Linked DNA regions of Homo sapiens: region 1 is linked to region 2. Evidence: promoter capture Hi-C in 16 types of primary human blood cells and fetal thymus (Javierre and others, 2016). All regions are on one chromosome and are shown on one strand. Each heading gives the region's core, a stretch centred on a gene start or on the middle of the fragment in contact. The rest is flanking DNA. Distances are from core to core; before and after follow the strand shown. Region 1 holds the start of H2AC18 (H2A clustered histone 18). Region 2 overlaps MCL1 (MCL1 apoptosis regulator, BCL2 family member).

Region 1 (5,208 bases), core at 1,710-4,209, 730 kb after region 2:
GACAAAATCTCTGCAGTGGCCTGTGATGCTCCTTAATGGCCTACATAATCCAGCCCTCAAGCACCTCCGTGATCTCTGTAAAACTTTCCCTTGGTCACTGTGCTTCAGCCACATTAACCAGCTTGCATATTTCTCACATTCACCAAGCTTGTTCCTGCCTTGGGGCCTTTGTACTTACCATGTTCTGTTCTGAGAATACTCTGCCTCAAGATATCCTACAACTATCTTACTGTATTCAGCTCTCTGCTCAAGTATTAACTGATGAAACCTGTCATCCCTACTCCACTCCATGTTCTGCTTTACTTAACAGCAATTGCACATATGGCCCCCTGAATAATATACATTTAGTCACTTATTTTTACTTATCTGCTAATTAAAATGTAGACTTTTTCTATTCTGTTTACTGCTGTATTCCCAGCATGTTTTATCCGAATGTGCAGTGGTTTCTTTTCTTCTCCCTTATCGTGGGAAGTGATGTGCACAAATACACATAATGGAGCCTGAATGTCATATTGCTTTCATACCTGTGTGAATTTTGGTAAGAAAGGAAAAGTAGCGATTGACAGGTAATATAATTACATTAAGTCACTCTCATAGTTAGCTGTTTATTGCTTTCCTGCTCTTATTCTCAGTCCCCAGGACCAAATGTTGACCACTACCTTCCCCCACATATAATTAGGTTATTTACCGAACGCCATGCAGGTGGCTGTTAAAAGGAAGATATATACTTACCTTATAAACTCAACTTTTCCCTGTTGTCTTTCTGTCTCACCCCTACCTCCATGCTTTAAATTAACTTTTCAGGCTTAGGCCTTATCTCTCAGTAGAGCCATATAAGGTATGTGTAAAAGCAGGAAAATGTTTCCTGGGGATGAAGCTTTGAAAAGCTTTTTTTTTTTTTTCTTTTGGCAATAAAATAAGGTAGATTCAGCACAATACCTAATAACTAAAAAATCTGTTTTTAATTGGGTGGGGCAGACAGCAAGTGTGTCATCCTGGAAGATACTATTTGGGATTTTATGTAGGTACATAAGAGAAAAAAGTGAACAAAAGCAAGGGGCTACCAGGACGCCGCAGTATGCTTAACATGTATTTTCTAAGTTTGTATTATGCCTTTATCTTGGTACTTTTATCTTCTGTTCTCACTTGATCTTTTTGAAATGTATTTTAAATCCTAATAAAAATATATAAAGTCTGGAATTAATAAAGGATTAAATGAAACTTTTGTATATCTCACTGAAATTCTCAGAAAAAAGGGGGGTGTGGGGAGGGGGAATTGCCTGGGGTAGTGAGTGAAAATTGTGACCAGGTTCTTACTAAGGAATATGGCAACTGCATAATCAAATGTCAGTGGTTACCAAACTTATGAATCACCTGGTGTTGTGTCATAGATTGTCTATCCTTGCCTCTCGCCCCCAGTGATTTAGATCAGTGGAACTATGTGGGGTTTAAGAAATATACAATATATATTTGTATATATTTGTGTGTCTCGAAAGCTTCAGGGTTAAATAAGTTTTAACTGTTTAGGAAACACTATTGTTTTAGGTATCCAGTCTCAAAGACGAAGGCCTTTAAAACTTACTTAATTTTTCATTACATTTCTTGCCCAGAAAATTGTAAAATACCCAACGATAACAATGGGGAATTGTCTATCAGCACTTGACTAAAAAGCTTTACTATCCATGACAGCAGCCTTTGCATTACTCAATTCTGATGGCATTTAACGTCTTGAAACCCAGAAATAAATACCTATAGACTCACAGTACCTGAAAGGAATACCAAATTGAGACAAGAGAGCTATATAAACCAAAAATTGCTTCAACCACAGAATGGAGGTCTACAGGTGCGGAAGGAAAGTTTATATGGTGAGGCTTGGTCGCAAAACTATTAGGAATATTTTCAGGTTACTACACAATTTTGCGAGCTCAATATGCAGTTAACACTTTTTCCCTTGACTCTCCTGAGCAGATTTACATTGACCGCACCCGTAGCATATCGTCTCACTTTGGAAAAGGCAAATTATGTGCACATGACCCTGTCACTACAAGGTAGTTCTCGACCAAGCTACATCTTATAGCTTTATCTTATATTCCTCTCCCATCATCTGCAGGAAAAGGGATAGGTGCTGAGGGAAAACCCCTAAGTAGAACTCACAGTAAGCAGTGGGAAAACAGCTTATTTCACTAACGGGGTTAAGTGGCCCTGAAAAGAGCCTTTGGAGACAAAGCAGCCGGCGACCCGCGGAGGGAGGGAGGGAGGGAGCGAGCGAGCGCCAGGTCCCGGCAGGGACTCACTTGGAGCTGGCGTACTTGGTGACCGCCTTGGTGCCCTCGGACACGGCGTGCTTGGCCAGCTCGCCGGGCAGCAGCAGGCGCACGGCCGTCTGGATCTCCGGGACGTGATGGTGGAGCGCTTGTTGTAGTGCGCCAGGCGGGACGCCTCTCCCGCGATGCGCTCGAAGATGTCGTTGAGGAAGGAGTTCATGATGCCCATGGCCTTGCACCAGATGCCGGTGTCGGGGTGGACCCGCTTCAGCACCTTGTACACGTAGATGGAGTAGCTCTCCTTGCGGCTGCGCTTGCGCTTCTTGCCGTCTTTCTTCTGGGCTTTGGTGACGGCTTTCTTGGAGCCCTTCTTGGGAGCCGGCGCGAACTTTGCAGGCTCAGGCATGGCCAGACCCAAGACCGACACCGACCCCCGAGAACGCAAGCAGAGCGGTAGGCTCGGGGTCTACCGGAAACGACTGTGTACTTACAGAGGCTGTGCGCATGACGCTGCGTTATGGTTCGCGAGTTTTCCGCGGCGCGCAATGCGAGGGAGACGAGATTATGTAAATGAGTGGATTCTGGCTGAGCTATCCTATTGGCTATCGGGACAAAATTTGCTTGAGCCAATCAAAGTGCTCCGTGGACAATCGCCGTTCTGTCTATAAAAAGGTGAAGCAGCGGCGTTTTCGGCGACTTTCCCGATCGCCAGGCAGGAGTTTCTCTCGGTGACTACTATCGCTGTCATGTCTGGTCGTGGCAAGCAAGGAGGCAAGGCCCGCGCCAAGGCCAAGTCGCGCTCGTCCCGCGCTGGCCTTCAGTTCCCGGTAGGGCGAGTGCATCGCTTGCTGCGCAAAGGCAACTACGCGGAGCGAGTGGGGGCCGGCGCGCCCGTCTACATGGCTGCGGTCCTCGAGTATCTGACCGCCGAGATCCTGGAGCTGGCGGGCAACGCGGCTCGGGACAACAAGAAGACGCGCATCATCCCTCGTCACCTCCAGCTGGCCATCCGCAACGACGAGGAACTGAACAAGCTGCTGGGCAAAGTCACCATCGCCCAGGGCGGCGTCTTGCCTAACATCCAGGCCGTACTGCTCCCTAAGAAGACGGAGAGTCACCACAAGGCAAAGGGCAAGTGAGGCTGACGTCCGGCCCAAGTGGGCCCAGCCCGGCCCGCGTCTCGAAGGGGCACCTGTGAACTCAAAAGGCTCTTTTCAGAGCCACCCACGTTTTCAAATAAAAGAGTTGTTAATGCTGGCCACTCTCAGTCCAGCGTTCCTCAGTAGTGAATAGCGAACCTGGAGCTGACGGGACGGGACGGGACGGGACGGGACGGGACGGGGCGGGGCGGGGCGGGGTGTGTGTGTGTGCGCGCCGTCTTCCATCTGGAGCACGTAACTGCCTTGGCTCTTCGATGAGTGGGTCCCCAGTCCTAGGACTTCCCAGGGCAGGTGCAGGCACCAAACGTCCTGGGCGCCGCCACGGTCCGCTCCACACAGTCACAAACACCAGCGCCGCGGGCAGTACCCAACGCGCTGAAGTGTTGCGCGCGGAGCGCGCGCTTCCCTAGTGGTTTCCGCAGGCTATGGCCGGACACTTAGACCTAGTCTGGCACCAGCGGGACGTGCTCCTCGTCCCCACCCCCGATGGGGAGGGCCCTGAGCGGGTAGTGCTCGCTAGTGTGGCGGAGCTGGGTCTTGGCTTCACTGAGCTGACTTAAGTCTTAGTTTCTGTTTTGTTTTCCAAAGCGCCCTGGCGGCGGAGAGTAAGGGCCTCGGAGGCGGAATCTTGCGTCCTGGGGGCGGGCACCTCTCCCACCCAAAAGGCACCCGACAGGCGAAAAACGATCCGCCAAGTAGCAACTGGGGGCGGGGGGCAAATGGAAGAATGAGGTTCCACGCGGGAGCTGTAGGGCGCAGCAAGAAAGGGGGGGTATTGCGGGCAGTGTGTTCTAAGGAAGCGAAGGGCGGAAAGGGAACAATCTGACAAAGCTGCAATGGAAAATGACTTTCACCCTGAAGGAAAGGGGAAAAACAAGCTTGCGAAACTTCGCCAACTGGTAAGTAGAAAGTGAGGCGGGGTGGGCGGGATTAGGGAGGAATCTGCCCAAGCCAACCGGTGACTTTAGGACGGGTGACGTCACAGCCAATGGACAGCCAGCGCGGGATTTTCAATTATTGTTCCGCCCAATCGGGAAAAGACTGTGCTTATAAAGACGGCTGCGGCGGGGCTAGGAGCTCGTTTTTCTCCCCGCCGCTGCGCTGGTAAGCCTGTGTTTTGGTTCGCTATGGCCCGTACTAAGCAGACTGCTCGCAAGTCGACCGGCGGCAAGGCCCCGAGGAAGCAGCTGGCCACCAAGGCGGCCCGCAAGAGCGCGCCGGCCACGGGCGGGGTGAAGAAGCCGCACCGCTACCGGCCCGGCACCGTAGCCCTGCGGGAGATCCGGCGCTACCAGAAGTCCACGGAGCTGCTGATCCGCAAGCTGCCCTTCCAGCGGCTGGTACGCGAGATCGCGCAGGACTTTAAGACGGACCTGCGCTTCCAGAGCTCGGCCGTGATGGCGCTGCAGGAGGCCAGCGAGGCCTACCTGGTGGGGCTGTTCGAAGACACGAACCTGTGCGCCATCCACGCCAAGCGCGTGACCATTATGCCCAAGGACATCCAGCTGGCCCGCCGCATCCGTGGAGAGCGGGCTTAAGAAGTGGCGGTTCGGCCGGAGGTTCCATCGTATCCAAAAGGCTCTTTTCAGAGCCACCCACATCAGCACTTGGAAGAAGCTGTACCGCTTGCCCTCCGTGCTCCTCCGGCATTAGAGCGGGGAAGGCACTTCCGCTTAGGCTCCCAACAAAACGGGGTCGGGTCCCCCTGCTGCGGTGCCGTCTTGAGCTTTGCCGACTTCGGCCAATTGGCCTATCCGCACTGGCCGGGCTGCGGACGCTTTCCT
Region 2 (5,460 bases), core at 536-3,035:
AGCTGCATCGAACCATTAGCAGAAAGTATCACAGACGTTCTCGTAAGGACAAAACGGGACTGGCTAGTTAAACAAAGAGGCTGGGTAAGTTTGCCTTAAGGATGAAAGGGGCCTTGGAGTGGAAGTAGAATGAAGGATTTTTTTTAGAGAGGTGGGGATATCTAAAGGTTTTTATGACGCACGGCTGTTTGCAGGCTCTAACTAAAGGACCATTGTTTATTTGATGTTGATTTAAGTAGTGGATCCTTAGAGATAGTGGTATGGCGGTCTTGAATTGTATCAAAAATCTTGGTTTTCTCTAGGCAATTTTTTGTTCCAATTCAGTTGAATACTCTTCAGTGGATTCAAACCATGAAAAAATAAGTCACCAGGGGAGGATAGCTGAAATAATTCCTAAGGCGGTGCCTGTTTTAATGGAGAAGATATGGGGTGGAGCCTGCGTTTTAAACAAACCCAGATCTGATGCAGGATGTACTTAACTACGTTGAGAAAAACTGATCTGCGCAATTGAGGCGTTACTGAAATATTAGGTGGTGGAGATTTGAGAATAAGGGTTTTCGTCTTTTACCTCATGGGAACTCTGGAAGTCCTTTTGTTAGGATAAATCCTAATAAGACCAAGATAGTACTGTAAAATGAAGTTTAATTATCATGGGTCCCCGCTTAAGAAACTGAAGAACTTATTTTCTTTTTTTGCCCCGGGGTGAATAATAATTGGTTTACTATTGCTTTAGGGGGAAACCTTAGATATTTTAATTTACCTTCTCTCTGGATAGTAGTGTTGTAAGAGAGCAGAAACCCATACTTGAAAATGTGCTTTTCTTTTTTGTTTTCTAGGATGGGTTTGTGGAGTTCTTCCATGTAGAGGACCTAGAAGGTGGCATCAGGAATGTGCTGCTGGCTTTTGCAGGTGTTGCTGGAGTAGGAGCTGGTTTGGCATATCTAATAAGATAGCCTTACTGTAAGTGCAATAGTTGACTTTTAACCAACCACCACCACCACCAAAACCAGTTTATGCAGTTGGACTCCAAGCTGTAACTTCCTAGAGTTGCACCCTAGCAACCTAGCCAGAAAAGCAAGTGGCAAGAGGATTATGGCTAACAAGAATAAATACATGGGAAGAGTGCTCCCCATTGATTGAAGAGTCACTGTCTGAAAGAAGCAAAGTTCAGTTTCAGCAACAAACAAACTTTGTTTGGGAAGCTATGGAGGAGGACTTTTAGATTTAGTGAAGATGGTAGGGTGGAAAGACTTAATTTCCTTGTTGAGAACAGGAAAGTGGCCAGTAGCCAGGCAAGTCATAGAATTGATTACCCGCCGAATTCATTAATTTACTGTAGTGTTAAGAGAAGCACTAAGAATGCCAGTGACCTGTGTAAAAGTTACAAGTAATAGAACTATGACTGTAAGCCTCAGTACTGTACAAGGGAAGCTTTTCCTCTCTCTAATTAGCTTTCCCAGTATACTTCTTAGAAAGTCCAAGTGTTCAGGACTTTTATACCTGTTATACTTTGGCTTGGTTTCCATGATTCTTACTTTATTAGCCTAGTTTATCACCAATAATACTTGACGGAAGGCTCAGTAATTAGTTATGAATATGGATATCCTCAATTCTTAAGACAGCTTGTAAATGTATTTGTAAAAATTGTATATATTTTTACAGAAAGTCTATTTCTTTGAAACGAAGGAAGTATCGAATTTACATTAGTTTTTTTCATACCCTTTTGAACTTTGCAACTTCCGTAATTAGGAACCTGTTTCTTACAGCTTTTCTATGCTAAACTTTGTTCTGTTCAGTTCTAGAGTGTATACAGAACGAATTGATGTGTAACTGTATGCAGACTGGTTGTAGTGGAACAAATCTGATAACTATGCAGGTTTAAATTTTCTTATCTGATTTTGGTAAGTATTCCTTAGGTTTTTCTTTGAAAACCTGGGATTGAGAGGTTGATGAATGGAAATTCTTTCACTTCATTATATGCAAGTTTTCAATAATTAGGTCTAAGTGGAGTTTTAAGGTTACTGATGACTTACAAATAATGGGCTCTGATTGGGCAATACTCATTTGAGTTCCTTCCATTTGACCTAATTTAACTGGTGAAATTTAAAGTGAATTCATGGGCTCATCTTTAAAGCTTTTACTAAAAGATTTTCAGCTGAATGGAACTCATTAGCTGTGTGCATATAAAAAGATCACATCAGGTGGATGGAGAGACATTTGATCCCTTGTTTGCTTAATAAATTATAAAATGATGGCTTGGAAAAGCAGGCTAGTCTAACCATGGTGCTATTATTAGGCTTGCTTGTTACACACACAGGTCTAAGCCTAGTATGTCAATAAAGCAAATACTTACTGTTTTGTTTCTATTAATGATTCCCAAACCTTGTTGCAAGTTTTTGCATTGGCATCTTTGGATTTCAGTCTTGATGTTTGTTCTATCAGACTTAACCTTTTATTTCCTGTCCTTCCTTGAAATTGCTGATTGTTCTGCTCCCTCTACAGATATTTATATCAATTCCTACAGCTTTCCCCTGCCATCCCTGAACTCTTTCTAGCCCTTTTAGATTTTGGCACTGTGAAACCCCTGCTGGAAACCTGAGTGACCCTCCCTCCCCACCAAGAGTCCACAGACCTTTCATCTTTCACGAACTTGATCCTGTTAGCAGGTGGTAATACCATGGGTGCTGTGACACTAACAGTCATTGAGAGGTGGGAGGAAGTCCCTTTTCCTTGGACTGGTATCTTTTCAACTATTGTTTTATCCTGTCTTTGGGGGCAATGTGTCAAAAGTCCCCTCAGGAATTTTCAGAGGAAAGAACATTTTATGAGGCTTTCTCTAAAGTTTCCTTTGTATAGGAGTATGCTCACTTAAATTTACAGAAAGAGGTGAGCTGTGTTAAACCTCAGAGTTTAAAAGCTACTGATAAACTGAAGAAAGTGTCTATATTGGAACTAGGGTCATTTGAAAGCTTCAGTCTCGGAACATGACCTTTAGTCTGTGGACTCCATTTAAAAATAGGTATGAATAAGATGACTAAGAATGTAATGGGGAAGAACTGCCCTGCCTGCCCATCTCAGAGCCATAAGGTCATCTTTGCTAGAGCTATTTTTACCTATGTATTTATCGTTCTTGATCATAAGCCGCTTATTTATATCATGTATCTCTAAGGACCTAAAAGCACTTTATGTAGTTTTTAATTAATCTTAAGATCTGGTTACGGTAACTAAAAAAGCCTGTCTGCCAAATCCAGTGGAAACAAGTGCATAGATGTGAATTGGTTTTTAGGGGCCCCACTTCCCAATTCATTAGGTATGACTGTGGAAATACAGACAAGGATCTTAGTTGATATTTTGGGCTTGGGGCAGTGAGGGCTTAGGACACCCCAAGTGGTTTGGGAAAGGAGGAGGGGAGTGGTGGGTTTATAGGGGGAGGAGGAGGCAGGTGGTCTAAGTGCTGACTGGCTACGTAGTTCGGGCAAATCCTCCAAAAGGGAAAGGGAGGATTTGCTTAGAAGGATGGCGCTCCCAGTGACTACTTTTTGACTTCTGTTTGTCTTACGCTTCTCTCAGGGAAAAACATGCAGTCCTCTAGTGTTTCATGTACATTCTGTGGGGGGTGAACACCTTGGTTCTGGTTAAACAGCTGTACTTTTGATAGCTGTGCCAGGAAGGGTTAGGACCAACTACAAATTAATGTTGGTTGTCAAATGTAGTGTGTTTCCCTAACTTTCTGTTTTTCCTGAGAAAAAAAAATAAATCTTTTATTCAAATACAGGGTGTGATATGGGTCTTTTCTCATCGACGCCTCTTTTTCCTTCCCTCTCTTAGGCAAACCTTTTAGAGAAGTCAGCTGAGCAAATATGTACAGGTGAATTCAAAGCAAAAGCCTCACAAAGTTGATTTGCCTTAGAGCAAAGGACAGTTCCTTTCTTCAATTCTAATTAGAGGTGTTGGGTTTTTAATTAAATATATTACTGCTGTACTTAGAGGAGTTCTTAAACCTCCAAGTAAAATCAAAAACCTCTTTAAAATCAAAATTTCTGTCTTGATTTATTTATTTATTATTTTTTTTTTGAGATGGAGTTTTGCTCTTGTTGTCCAGGCTGGAGTGCAATGGCACGATCTCCGCTCACCGCAACCTCCGCCTCCCAGGTTCAAATGATTCTCCTGCCTCAGCCTCCTGAGTAGCTGGGAATACAGGCATGCGCCACCACACCCAGATAATTTTGTATTTTTAGTAGAGATGGGGTTTCTCCGTGTTGGTCAGGCTGGTCTTGAACTCCCGACCTCAGGTGATCTGCCCACCTCTGCCTCCCAGAGTGCCAGGATTACAGGCGTGAGCCATCGCACCCAGCCTCTGTCTTGATTTTTTTGAATCACCAGGTGTTGGTATGTTTTGTTTTGTTTTGTTTTGAGGCACAGTCTCACTCTTTTGCCCAGGCTAGAGTGCAGTGGGGCAATCTCGGCTCACTGCAACCTCAGCCTCCCGAGTAGCTGGGATTACAGGTGCCCGCCACCATGCCCGGCTAATTTTTCTATTTTTGGTAGAGACGGGGTTTTGCCGTGTTGGTCAGGCTGGTCTTGAAGTCCTGACCTCAGTGATCCACTCGCCTCAGCCGAAGTGCTGCGATTACAGACCTGAGCCACTGCGCCCAGCCTTGATCTTGAGGTAAGAGGGTACTGTACAGCAGTTACTCTATCATAACACCTAAATAATACCTAAAGTTAAAGAGTTTTGATGAAGTTCTTGGCAGCAGTGCTTTTCCCCTTCTGCTTTCCAAAAGGAGGTAAAAAGAAGCCAGTCAATTTCAAAAACCCCTATCCTGCTTTTATTTTCAGCTACCTTGAAAGTGAGCTGAATCACCATGGAAATGTGCAAATGTGAGGTTTGCATACTTGGTTTTAAGCCCTGAGCACCATATGCTAATCAGGCAATCAGGATTCTGTGCCTCCCTGCAGTCAGTTGCATTTCTATTTAAAAGTGCATTTTGGTTTGGAAGCCCCTTTCTGGAGCCTAACTACCAAAAGGCAGCAACTTTTTGTATCATTACAAAGAAAGCTGTGTAAGTGCACTCCCAAGCAAAGGTGTGGTAGGAGAGTAGCAGCCACAGAGGACCCAAGCCCAAGTCTTGGCCTGAGTTAAGTTAGTGCTATTGCTCCCATTGACGTGCTATGATGTGAAGCCGTTTCTGGTACAGTGTTCCTTTGCTCAGCACCTTAAAAGCTTGGATTTAATAGTAACTGGGTAACCTTAATCAGTAGTCAGAATTATCAACACTTTGCTTTATTTGACACAACCAGACTTTCTCAGTTCCTGTTCTGTATCTAGAGCAACGTCTTCATACTGTTTTTTCACAAAATTTTTATTTAAAACAGTTGTGACAGCCGAAGGATTTTTTTTTTTTTTTTTACAAAATTAAAATGAAATAACTTGTACAACTGGTGCGTACCATGGCTCCA

What was found. The method cuts DNA at HindIII sites, captures the fragments that hold promoters and counts their contacts. A CHiCAGO score of 5 or more calls a contact.
Region 1: a contact is called between the fragment with the promoter of H2AC18 here and a fragment that was not itself captured in region 2, in 1 of 17 cell types (fetal thymus). The highest score is 5.1, in fetal thymus.

The regions. Positions count from the first base shown.
Region 1 is chr1:149,840,501-149,845,708 of GRCh38, reverse strand. It overlaps H2AC18 (H2A clustered histone 18), which reads left to right and starts at 2,959. Exons shown (of 1, transcript NM_003516.3): 1 at 2,959-3,491. The coding sequence starts at 3,011. The coding sequence ends at 3,403. It overlaps H3C14 (H3 clustered histone 14), which reads left to right and starts at 4,501. Exons shown (of 1, transcript NM_021059.3): 1 at 4,501-5,022. The coding sequence starts at 4,552. The coding sequence ends at 4,962. It also overlaps the pseudogene H2BC19P and a transcript of H4C15 not described here. RefSeq lists enhancers at 1-384, 4,660-5,208. The HindIII fragment of the contact is 2,631 bases long and covers 1,674-4,304 here.
Region 2 is chr1:150,572,868-150,578,327 of GRCh38, reverse strand. It overlaps MCL1 (MCL1 apoptosis regulator, BCL2 family member), which reads left to right. Exons shown (of 3, transcript NM_021960.5): 2 at 1-84; 3 at 837-3,770. The coding sequence ends at 953. It overlaps ADAMTSL4-AS1 (ADAMTSL4 antisense RNA 1), which reads left to right and starts at 3,776. Exons shown (of 4, transcript NR_104133.1): 1 at 3,776-4,204; 2 at 4,507-4,669. RefSeq lists enhancers at 1-300, 1-460. The HindIII fragment of the contact is 703 bases long and covers 1,434-2,136 here.